4 separate regions of the Homo sapiens genome follow, and regions 2, 3 and 4 are each linked to region 1. Evidence: promoter capture Hi-C in human tissues and cell types (Jung and others, 2019). All regions are on one chromosome and are shown on one strand. Each heading gives the region's core, a stretch centred on a gene start or on the middle of the fragment in contact. The rest is flanking DNA. Distances are from core to core; before and after follow the strand shown. Region 1 holds the start of LGALS1 (galectin 1). Region 2 holds the start of CARD10 (caspase recruitment domain family member 10). Region 3 holds the start of GALR3 (galanin receptor 3). Region 4 has its middle 19 kb from the start of CARD10.

Region 1 (2,810 bases), core at 92-2,591:
CAAGCCCCGGCCCAGCCGGGTTAGAGGACAAGGCCTCCACTGCTCGAAGTGTCCGGGGGTGGCTGGGGGTGGGAGTGGGGTTGTTCCCGCCCGGCATCCTCTGACCAAGCCAAGGGGAAGCCTGGGGAAAGGATTGAGCTGTAATTTCCAGCCTCCGATTGTCTATGTGGTCCTGGGAAAGTCCCTATTCCCACCGGGGTTGGCTTCAGTCTGTAACGTGAAGGTTCTAGAAGACAGGCTCTAGAAGATTTTGCAGATTGGCTTGGGAATTTTGGACTCAAGAGTGACTTGGGAGATGGGGTGCTCTGTCCCATCGCAGATGGAGAGGATCAGGCTGGGGAGGGGCCGACACTTGGCCCACCGTCACACTGAATGGAGGGGCCGGCCCCTCTGCTGGAGAGGAAGTGGCTAGGGGCGGGCGACCCCACTATTCTCCTTCAAGCCCCTCTCTGCAAAGAGGCCCAGGGGCTAGAGAGGAGACCCTGAAAAACACGGCCTCTCTGCATTAGGGAGAATAGCCCTGCAGTCGGGCTGTGGCTGGGCTGGCTCAGGGTTAACAAGATTGAGCAAACTGCTGGGCACTGCTGTTCCCTGGCACCCCGAGTGGGTGGGCAAGAGTTAACTGGTTTGAGTGGTTTCTTCTGCCAGAAACTTGAACCCTTTCCCTGGGGCCCGAGGAAGATTCTCACCTCCCTGCCACCCCAACCTCCCAGCTTGGGGGTGGTGGAAGGGAATTTCCCCCGCCCCCCCCGCCACCAGCCTGGACACAACCACCCTCCACCCCCGACCTAGAAGGGCCCATCCTGGGCAGCTTGTCTCGGGTCCTGGCAACTTTTCAGCGTTCTCTGGAGCAGAGGGTAACTCTGCCCTGGCCTGGTGACCGGGACAGCTGCAGGGGGGAGGGGACAGGAGGCTCTTTGGGGTGGAGGAGGGGGAAAGGGATAGTGGCCTGGGTGTCCCCCAGTTGGCCACACCCTTCCCACGCTCACTTCTCAGAGAGCTGCAGAATGTCAACCCTGGGCAGAAATAACTGTGCTTTCAGACCCTGGAGGAATCCAGACAATTATCAATGCAGAGAAGGCCTTGAGGGACCATGGCGCCCACCCCCATTTTACAGATGTGGCCACTGAGGTCCAGAAAAGAGAAGGCACTGGTTCCAGGCCACACAGCTGGGGCTAGAATCTGCTCCCGATCTGCCCAGCTCTCCTCTGGCCATCAGTTCCTGCCCTATCCCCTGGACCTTGGGGGGGGGTCCCCACACTCACACAAGCCATGATTGAGTCCAGGAGGATGTTCCCGGGCAGGCGCACCAGCTGTCAGAAGACTCCACCCGAGAGAGATGGGCCCCCGGACGCTCCCACCCTTTTAACTGGACCGGACCGGGTGAGCCCCGCCCCCTGAAAGTTCAGCCAATTGCAAGTCAGGATAGGGCTGGGGGCCACTGGGGGCGGAGTCCGTGGAATTTTGAAGCCAGTTTTGGAGCAGAGGTGACCAATCAGAGTGGCGAGCTGCTGCCCCCCCTCACCCCGCCGCCCCCGGCCAGAGTCCAAGCTCCACCTCCTATTCTCCTTCATCCCTCTCCACCTCCCCACCAAAATTGTGCTGTGGCAGAGATTGGGGGAAGCCAGTGGAAAATAGTTTGATGATGAGCTAGGCCCACAAGTTGGCGGGAAGGGGCCTGTGGCCAGCAGGCTGGGCTCAGGGGGTGCCCAGAGAAGATGGCTGAGGAGGTGCAGGGTCCTTCAGGGAATCAGAGCTGGGGGAGACCAGGCCACTCCCGGGCAGGGACCAGGGCGTGGCTCCTGCTGCGTGCGCGTCTGCAGAGGGCCACTGACTTAACCACAGGCCCTGGCCCCACCCGGGCCTTCCCCGGAAGCAAGGACTGCGGCTGCTGCAGCGCTCTCTCGCTGGCTCCTCGGGAAGGCTAAAGAAAGGCTGGGCCGGGCGCCAAGCCTGAGGCTGCAGGGCTTGGCTAAGGCCTCGGGCTTGGCCGCGTTCAGGGGCAGGCAGGGGATAGTCAAAGCGCCCTGGCCTGACAGCCTCAGGCCTGAGAGTGTCAAGCTTAGGAGATGGCCCAGGGTGGTCCAGACCAGGAGGGGGTGGGGTCCTGGCTCTGTGCACCCTGTCCTTTCTCTTTTTTATTTTTATTTATTTATATATTTATTTTTGAGATGGAGTCTCGCTCTGTCGCCCAGGCTGGAGTGCAGTGGCGTGATCTCAGCTCACTGCAACCTCTGCCTCCCAGGTTCAACTGATTCTCCTGCCTCAGCCTCCCGAGTAGCTGGGACTACAGGCCCCCACCACCACACCCGGCTAATTTATGTACTTTTAGTAGAGACGGGGTTTCACCACGTTGGCCAGGCTGGTCTCAAACTCCTGACCTCAGTTGATCCACCCGCCTCAGCCTCCCAAAGTAATGGGATTACAGGTGTGAGCCACCATGCCTGGCCACCCTGTCTGCTCTCTTAACATCTCCTCTGAGGCCCGGCACAGCCCTCCCTTCCCTGAGTGTTCAGCAGGTATTTTACTGAGCACCTACTATGTACCTGGCCCTGGGCTCTGAGGATTCAAAGCTGAACCCCTCCCAGTCCCCACTCTCAAGGAGCGCATAGTTGGGGTGGAATCTGACCACAACCACGTTAAGAAGTAGATGATGGGCTGGGCGCAGTGGCTCACGCCGGTAATCCCAGCTCTTTAGGAAGCCGAGGCGGGCGGATCACCTAAGGTTAGGAGTTCGAGACTAGCCTGACCAACACGGAGAAACCCCATCTCTACTAAAAATACAAAATTAGCTGGGCATGGTGGCATAT
Region 2 (2,810 bases), core at 204-2,703, 160 kb after region 1:
TCTGAGCTCTGCTTCCTCCTTTGTTAATTGAGGAATTTGCACTAGAATTCAGTTCTCCCAAAGCATTTCTTCTGCATGTAAACAGGTGACACCCAAAACAAAAACAAATGTACAACAAATGCAAACCAAAAAAAGGCTGTGGTTAATTAAGTTTGGAAAAGGACACCAGGATATATAAAGTTAAATCTGTTTCTTTACTGCTGGGGCTTTTTTTTTTTTTTTTTTTTTTTTTGAGGGGGAGTCTCATTCTGTTGCCCGGGCTGCTGGAGTGCAGTGGCACGATATCACTGCAACCTCCGCCTCCTGGGTTCAAGCGATTCTCGTGCCTCAGCCTCCCGAGTAGCTGGGATTACAGACGCGCACTACCACGTCTAGCTAATTTTTATATTTTTAGTAGAGATGGGGTTTCGCCATATTGGTCAGGCTGGTCTCGAACTCCTGACCTCAGGTGATCCACTCGCCTCGGTCTCCCAAAGTGTCGGGATTCCAGGCATGAGCCACCGCCCCCGGCCTTAATTTAAGCAGGGCTTTTCAGAGCCTTTATTGATTGAAACCTTAATTCTTTGGATAAGTAATACATATGTCCACGGCATCTAATTCAGAAGTTGTGGAAGGCGATTAGGGAGCTCACACCTCTTTCCTGTACCGGTTGTGCCTCCTCTGTTCCTCCCTGGCAGCAGGTACCTGGCAGCTTCTAATGCATAGCGAGACTGTATCGCATGCACCAGCAGATACCGTGTAGACTCGGCCAGTATCATGGTAAGACACCACCGGCCTCCCAGGCAGGAGCGGGAGTATGGATGGCTAGTCACAGCCCGCCCCCAGCATCTCTGGGACCAACACCTGGAGGAATACCCTTTGAGAATTGTGGGGTCCCTGGTCCTCAAGTGCCACGGGAGTTTGCGTAAGAGGGGAGTTGGCAGTGCTGCCCTGCAGGTTCAGACCCCCATCTTGCAGAAAGCCCCCATGACCTCTGCCCATTGCTGTCCCCCGCGGGGCTGTCCTGCGCTCCAGGGAAGCTCCCGCGCCCGCAGTGCATGTGGGGACCCGAGAAGGGCAAGCCCAGCTTGAGTGCCCGCGGGCTGCGCCGGGCGTGAGCGGCTAGCCCCGCACGGGCGGGCGCGCTGTGGGCGTGGGGAGGCGATGCGCGTGGCCCGGGGAAGGTGTGTCGCGGCGCGCGGGGGGTGTGAGCGCGCCTGCCCGCCCCCGCCCCGCCCAGAGGCCGGGCAGGTGTGGGCGGGCGGCCAGGACCCCGCCGAGCCGGGCTGGAGAGCCGGCGGGAAACAGGAAGCAGGGGGAGGCGCAGCCGGACGGCCGGGAGGGAGGGCGTGCAGACGGACGCGCGGGGTGGCCGGGGGCCGGACGCACGACCCGGGGCGGGCGGCAATGTGGGGAGGCCCGGGCAGCCCAGGAGGCTGCGGGGACGGGGGCGGAGCCGGGGGCGCCACGGGCACCGCCCCCCTGCGCCGGCGGAGCCGCCGCCCGAGTGCGGACCCGGGAGCCCGAGGCGACTGTAGCGTGCGGGGTGAGTCGCGGGGAGCTCGGGGCGCGCCCCCGACGGCGGGTCTGCGGACGACGCCCCGGGGGTGCTTGGCCGCACATCTAGCCCTAGGGAGCCCTGGTCGACCCCCGTGCGCCTCTTGCCCGCAGACCCTGAGGACACGGCCATGCCGGGCCGGGCGGAGGCGGGGGAGGCCGAGGAGGAGGCCGGGGCCGGCTCGGGGTCTGAGGCGGAGGAGGACGCGCTGTGGGAGCGAATCGAGGGCGTCCGGCATCGGCTGGCTCGCGCCCTGAACCCGGCCAAGCTCACGCCGTATCTGCGCCAGTGCCGGGTCATCGACGAGCAGGACGAGGAGGAGGTGCTGAGCACCTACCGCTTCCCGTGCCGCGTCAACCGCACCGGTGAGCCGCGGGTCCCGAGTGGGCCACGACCTGGGCCGGCCGTGCCCTGGGGCGCAGCGCCCACAGCCGTGTAGCGCGAAGCTAGGGCTCTGCTGCCCTGGGGCTCGGTCTCCGCATCAGTAGAGTGGGCCGGCTGGGTATGCCCACCAGCCTGCCTCCTCCCCACCCACCACTGCGCCTTGGCGGTCCGCGTTGCCCACACCGGGGTCAGAGTTTTGTCTCTTGGGGTTCTCTCCCACTTCCTGGGTCCACATTAGAGCAGAAGGTTGGATGTGGCTGCCAGGGCCGGCTGGGCCTGGGACCTCCCGGTCACAGCCGGTGGACTTGGCACCTTTCCTGCGCTCTTTGATCTCCGAGTTCTGTCTGTCCCCTCCTCTGTGCACCATACACTCCTGGGGGAGTCCTTTTTCAAGTGTCAAGATCCGTCTCAGCTTTACGTGGGTCCCCACTCCCACAGGGTGTGCCTTTGAACCAGAACTCAAAAAGGCATGATGGAATGGTCTTTAATGGTGGAATTTCAGGCATGGCCAATGGGAGAAGTATTTTCTTTGCTTCTGGGGATAGAGGGGGCTTCTCTGTGCCATTGAAAAGGCAGGCTGCATTTGCGGGCCGGCATCTGTGTCTGTGGGGGGTGTTGGGGAGCTCTGGGAGCCCAGGAGTCATGAGGGAATGTGCTCCCCTGGCTGTGGCAGAATGGCTCTCTTCTCTTCCCTGATGTGTTGGGACAGGCCCCTGTGTGTGTCACTGGCTCAAAAATCTGGGGAACGTGGGCCTGGAGCATGGTGGGGGCAGAAGCAACCAGGCACCTGGGGAGGCCTTCCCCTAGACCCTGGGTACATCCCCCCACTACTCTGTAGGGCGCCTGATGGACATCTTGCGCTGCCGTGGCAAGAGGGGCTATGAGGCCT
Region 3 (2,810 bases), core at 121-2,620, 150 kb before region 1:
AGCGCAGCGGGTGCCGCACGGCCAGGTACCTGCGGAGGGCGCCTGGTCAGCGGGGCGGGCAGGTGCCCTCCCGCAGGGGCCCGCGCCACGTCCCGCGCCCGGGCCCTGCGGCCCAGTGCGCCTCCTGTGAACCGTGGGGGACGTGGCGGGGATTAAGGGTGTGAACGCGCAAGGTGCTTAGGCCCTTGCACCTAGCAAGGGCCCGATCCCGGTGACTTGTTATTTCTAGGATTATTTTATGGATGCGTCAGATGAGGTCCAGAGAGAAGTGACTTGCCCAGGGTCATCAGCTGGAGTGAGCCTGGATTTGACCCCAAGTTTCAAGCTGTGGAAGCAGATGTGTGCACAGCTTGGCCAGGTGTGGGCAGTTAGAAAATAGCTGGGCTGGGCGCGGTGGCTCACGCCTGTAATCCCAGCACTTGGGAGGCCGAGGCGGGCGGATCACTTGAGGTCAGGGGTTCGAGACCAGCCTGTCCAACATGGCAAAACCCCGTTTCTACTAAAAATACAAAAAATTAGCCAGGTGTGGTGGCCTGTAATCCCAGCTACTCAGGAGGCTGTGGCAGGAGAATCGCTGGAACCCAGGAGGCAGAGGTTGCAGTGAGCCAAGATCCAAAAAAAAAAAACAACAAAACAAAACAAAACAAAAAAACTGATGAACGCATTCGTGAGCTTCTTTTGCGATTCATTTCGCGCTTACAGAGCACTTACTATGTGCCAGACCCTGTGCTGCCACTTGAGACTCAGAGGCGTCCTCTGGAAGTTCACAGTGGAGGAGGGGAAGGGCAGGACAGTCCCCTCAAGCACGCCCTGCAGGTGCCCAGAGGCTGCTTGCGAGGGGTCAGGGAGCTTTTGTTTCCTCCCACCCACCTCCCTTTCTGGTCCCCCACTCTCTCCTTCCTAAGGCCAGTGAGGATCTGTTCAGGACTCCTCCCCCAACCCCCGCCCCCACAGCCCTGCCCAGCCAGGCCCCAGGCACAGCGCACCTGTCCACGGAGACAGCAGCCAGCGTAAAGCTGCTGGCGTACATGGTGAGGTAGATGAGCAGGTGCACGGCCTTGCAGACGAGGGCCCCAAAGAGCCAGGCATCCAGCGTGTAGATGGTGGCCTGGAAGGGCACGCAGCACAGGATGAAGCAGAGGTCAGCCACCGCCAGGTTGAGGATGAACAGGTCCGTGGTGCTGCCAGGCTCCTGCCAGGCACTCGGGCCAGGCTGCAGGAGCACTGCCAGCACCAGCCCATTGCCCACTGTGCCCAGCAGGAAGATTAGGGCAAAGACCACAGGCACTGCCACGGCCCCCACACTCCCTGGGCTGTCCAGTGAAATGTTCTGGGCATCAGCCATCTCCCCATCAGACGGGCACCTGGGAAGAGAAGCTGGAATCCTCAGGCAAGAGCCCCCAGTTCTGGTTGCTTGACCCCGGGATCTAACTCCCCCGACCTGGGTCTGGCCAGGTGTTCTGGGCTGGAAGCTCGTGGGAGATGGAGGAGGGGAGAGCAGAGCCAAAGTCATCGCTGAGTGTCACTGTGTGAGCAAGCTCGTGGTGTTCAAGGGGTGAGAGTTCCTCAGTTTCCTAAGGAACACCCCTGGAGTCCTGCCTGGAGGACTACCTAGGTATTTGAGGGACACTTTCAACCCACGAGGCTGGGGAAGGCACAAGCGAAGTAGGATGAAGATATGGCGATGGGGGGAGGGGCCAAACCCAGAAACTGGTATGTTTTCCTTCTCAATGGGGATCTGAAGCTCAGGGGAGACCCTGGGACATGGGTTTAGGGCTTTCTCTGGCTACAAGCTGTAGCCTTAGCAAAACACGGGTAACATCCCTGAGTCATTGGAGGGTCCAGTATAGTGAGATCATCACAATGGCAAAACTGGGAAGACCGTGTAGGTCACTGCTTCCTCTCTGCACATAGGGAAATTGAGGCCCAGAGAGGGGACATGGGAGGATAATATCACACTCGAAATGGCAGCTCTGGGGCTGTTGCCACCCTGGTATCCTGCCTCTTAAGCTAGAGTGCTCATCTGAGAGCTTGTAACAGGTGGTGCCTCTGACAACTTGTGTGTGTGCACACCGCACCCATGCTCACCCCCATCCCACTCTACAGCCCATGTCTCCTACTGCCTGTGGATCTCCTTGCAGGCTTGAGACCACTGGGGTGGTGGGACAAAGTAGGGGAAAGGGGGGTCAGGCAGGGAGTAGGGAAGAAAGGCAATGTCTGCCCCCATCCCAGCACCCAGCATGCAGTAGGTCCCCAAAGCCCAGGATGGGCAACACCCACCTCCGCCTTGGGCAGTGGGCTTGATCCTGGGTGGAATGGCCGGGCTGGGTGGGCCTCCTGATTCAGCGGCTGCCCCTTGGTGCCTCCCTGCAGGTACTGGTCTGCCTTCTACTTCTCCCCCTTTGCCTTTAAGGCCCCTCCTCTCCTCTGCCCCCTCTGCTGAGCCGGAGTTGGGCACTCCCTCTGGAGTAGCCACTGGCCACTTCCTCCTCAGTCCCTGATTTCCCCCAGGTGGCAGGCTCTTCTGCCTGGCTCTTCTCTGCCTCTCTGCGTTGCTGCTGCCTTTTCCTCTCTCTGCAGCCAGTAACCCATTGATCTCGCTCTCTGTGATTTGCTTTGTAGTTAACCCCTCTGTGCCCAGGGCCCAGCCAGTCTCTGGCACTCCCACCTCCTGTGGCCCAGCCTGATGTGACTCCATCCCCTATCCCTGCACCTTCTTGCTCCAATCCATGTTTAGAAAAGGTTCCTAGGCCGGGCATGGTGGCTCACGTCTGTAATCCCAGCACTTTGGGAGGCTGAGGCAGGCAGAT
Region 4 (2,810 bases), core at 99-2,598, 140 kb after region 1:
TGGTGTGAGCTGGGAGTCCCAGCCACTTGGGAGGCTGAGGTGGGAGAATCGCTTGAGCCCAGGAGGTCAAGGCTGCAGTGAGCTATGATCACACCACTGCACTCCAGCCTGGGCAATAGAGCAAGACCCTGTCACTGAAAAACAAACAAACAAAAATGATTAGTTCTGGAATCCAGAAGTCTGAAATCAAGGTGTTGGAGGGGCCCCGCTCCCTCTGAAGGTGCTAGGGGAGAATCCTTCCTTGCCTCTTCCCGCTTCTGGTGGCTCCAGGTGTCCTTGCCTTATGGCAGCCTCGCTCCTGCCTCTGCCGACATTTCCGTGTAGCTCCCTCTGTGTCAGCATCTTCTCTTCTTGTAAGGACACTTGTCAGTGGATTTGGCCCCCCACGGATAATCCAGGACGATCTCATCTTGAGATCCTTACTTTTTTTTTTTTTTAAGATGGAGTTTCGTTCTTGTCACCCAGGCTGGCGTGCAATGGTGCAATCTGGTCTCACTGCAACCCTCTCCTCCCGGGTTCAAGCGATTCTCCTGCCTCAGCCTCCCAAGTAGCTGGAATTACAGGCATCCGCCACTACGCCTGGCTAATTTTTTATTTATATTTTTAGTAGAGAGGGGGTTTCGCTGTGTTGGTCAAGCTTGTCTTGAGCTCCTGACCTCAGGTGATCCGCCAGCCTCAGCCTCCCAAAGTGCTGGGATTACAGGAGTGAGCCACCGCGCCCGGCCGAGATTCTTATCTTCATTACATTCGCAAAGACTCTTTTTTCAAATAAGACTGTATTCCCTGGTCCCAGGTGGACGTGTCTTTTGCAGGGGGGCCACCAGTCAACCCACTGCAAAATCCCCAGGCAGTGCCCTCTCCCACGTTCCTCTCCTCCTTGGGGCTCCCAGCCCCTCCAATCCAGCCTCCTTGAGTAGGAACTGTGTGGTCCTCATTCACTTTTCCACCCCTAGGGCCCAGAGTGGGCAGTGTGTTTGCAAATATAACTCCGTTCCTCTCTTCTTCCCTCCCTCCCTCCAGTAACCGATGCCACCAGAGGCTAGAACTGGTGCTGCACCTGTGGGACGAGGGCGCCACCGTGTGTCCAGCTTGGAGCAGTGTGGTCACAGGCTTGAGCCCAGCCCCTGCCCTGCTGACAGCCACTTACAGAGCGCCTGCCCCACCAGTCACTCCACCCACATCAGCCCTCTTCTTCATGGCCGCAGTATAAAGAGGGAATTACTATCCAGTTTTTCAGATAAGGAGACTGAGGCTGAGACCTTGCTAACGTCACCCAGCCTTCAGCTGCCGCCAACTCCAAAGCCACACCCACGCCATGCTGTGGACCAAAACTAGACCTGTGCGTGGGTCTGGGCGTGAGCCTTCAGACTTCTCAGGGTGTCCTGCTATTGGGAAGCTGACGCAGGAGGATTGCTTGAGCCCAGTAGTTCGAGACCAGCTTGGGCAACATAGTGAGACCCTCATCTCTACACCTCTTCTGTAAAGGGGGGAAGGTGCCAAGGACCGCCCTTGCCAGGTGGCCCCTTCCCCGTCTCTGGCCCTGAGAGAGACCTGCAGACCCCTGAGGCCTGTGGGTCTTGGGGGAATGAATTTTTGGGGAATACAATTCTGAGTACTTTCCAAACATTAGTCTTTTTGAATATTTTGGTGTTCATTGTTTTTCTCTAAACATTTGCATATGTGTGAACTATTTAGTGATTTAAAAAATATACTTAACTGGGTTAAAACTTTACGTAGGGCTGAGTGCAGTGGCTCACGCCTGTAATCCCAGCCCTTTGGGAAGCCACGGTGGGCGGATCACTTGAGGTCAGGAGTTTGAGACCAGCCTGGCCAATATGGTGAAACCCTGTCTCTACTAAAAATACAAAAATTAGCCGGCTGTGGTGGTGCATGCCTGTAATCCCAGCTACTCGGGAGGCTGAGGCAGGAGAATTGCTTGAACCGGGGAGGTGGAGGTTGCAGTGAGCCAAGATTGTGCCACTGCACTTCAGCCTGGGCGATGGAGTGAGACTCTGTCTCAAAAAACAAAAGAAAACGAAACCAACTTTATGTAGGCCTCCAGTTCCCCTCTAAAAGACAACAGCTGGCTGGGCGCAGTGGCTCACGCCTGTAATCCCAGTACTTTGGGGAAGCCAAGGCAGGAGGTTCACTTGAGGCCAGGGCTTCGAGACCAGCCTGGGCAACATAGTGAGACCCTGTCTCTATTTAAAACAAACAAACAAAAAAGGCCTGGCACCGTGGCTCATGCCTGTAATCCCAGCACTTTGGGAGGCTGAGGCAGGCGGATCACCTGAGGTCAGGAGTTTGAGACCAGCCTGGCCATGCGGCGAAACCCTTACTAAAAATACAAAAATTAGCCAGATGTGGTAGCGGTGGGGGGTGCCTGTAATCCCAGCTCCTCAGGAGGCTGCGGCAGGGAAAATTGCTTGAACCCGAGAGGTGGAGGTTACAGTGAGCCAAGATCGCACCATGGCCCTCCAGCCTAGGCAACAGAGCGAGACTCCATCTCAAAAAAAAAAAAAAAATAAAATAAATAAATAAAAAATAAATGAAAAACAATAACTGATGGCAGTTTCCTCCATATTCTCCCAGAGATGATCTGGGATGATTTATATATGTATATATGTATGTACATGTACACAGTATATGCAGACACACACACCACACACACATTCCCCCACTTCTTTTTAAAAGCAAATGGTGGCATACGATATACAATTCTCTACTGTCTTTTTCCACATAATGACATTTTTGCATTTATTCCATATGATTGCATATAATTTACCTTTGGGGGTTGTATTAGTTTGGGC

The links. The method cuts DNA at HindIII sites, captures the fragments that hold promoters and counts their contacts. A contact is called where the count stands out against the background at its distance.
Region 2: a contact is called between the fragment with the promoter of CARD10 here and the fragment with the promoter of LGALS1 in region 1, in 1 of the 25 tissues and cell types used here (mesendoderm cells).
Region 3: a contact is called between the fragment with the promoter of GALR3 here and the fragment with the promoter of LGALS1 in region 1, in 2 of the 25 tissues and cell types used here (bladder and dorsolateral prefrontal cortex).
Region 4: a contact is called between a fragment that was not itself captured here and the fragment with the promoter of LGALS1 in region 1, in 1 of the 25 tissues and cell types used here (mesenchymal stem cells).

What each region holds. Positions count from the first base shown.
Region 1 is chr22:37,674,167-37,676,976 of GRCh38, reverse strand. It overlaps LGALS1 (galectin 1), which reads right to left and starts at 1,341. Exons shown (of 4, transcript NM_002305.4): 1 at 1,266-1,341. The coding sequence starts at 1,274. RefSeq lists a silencer at 1,399-1,538. The HindIII fragment of the contact is 16,498 bases long and covers 1-2,810 here.
Region 2 is chr22:37,518,058-37,520,867 of GRCh38, reverse strand. It overlaps CARD10 (caspase recruitment domain family member 10), which reads left to right and starts at 1,453. Exons shown (of 20, transcript NM_014550.4): 1 at 1,453-1,902; 2 at 2,760-2,810. The coding sequence starts at 1,668. The HindIII fragment of the contact is 30,090 bases long and covers 1-2,810 here.
Region 3 is chr22:37,821,942-37,824,751 of GRCh38, reverse strand. GALR3 (galanin receptor 3) reads right to left here and starts at 1,370. Exons shown (of 2, transcript NM_003614.2): 1 at 987-1,370; 2 at 1-29. The coding sequence starts at 1,345. The HindIII fragment of the contact is 28,947 bases long and covers 1-2,810 here.
Region 4 is chr22:37,537,263-37,540,072 of GRCh38, reverse strand. No RefSeq gene overlaps it. Among named protein-coding and RNA genes, the nearest start is that of CARD10, 19 kb to the right of the region's middle. RefSeq lists a silencer at 1,000-1,189 and enhancers at 808-1,307, 1,308-1,809, 1,916-2,125. The HindIII fragment of the contact is 4,240 bases long and covers 1-2,810 here.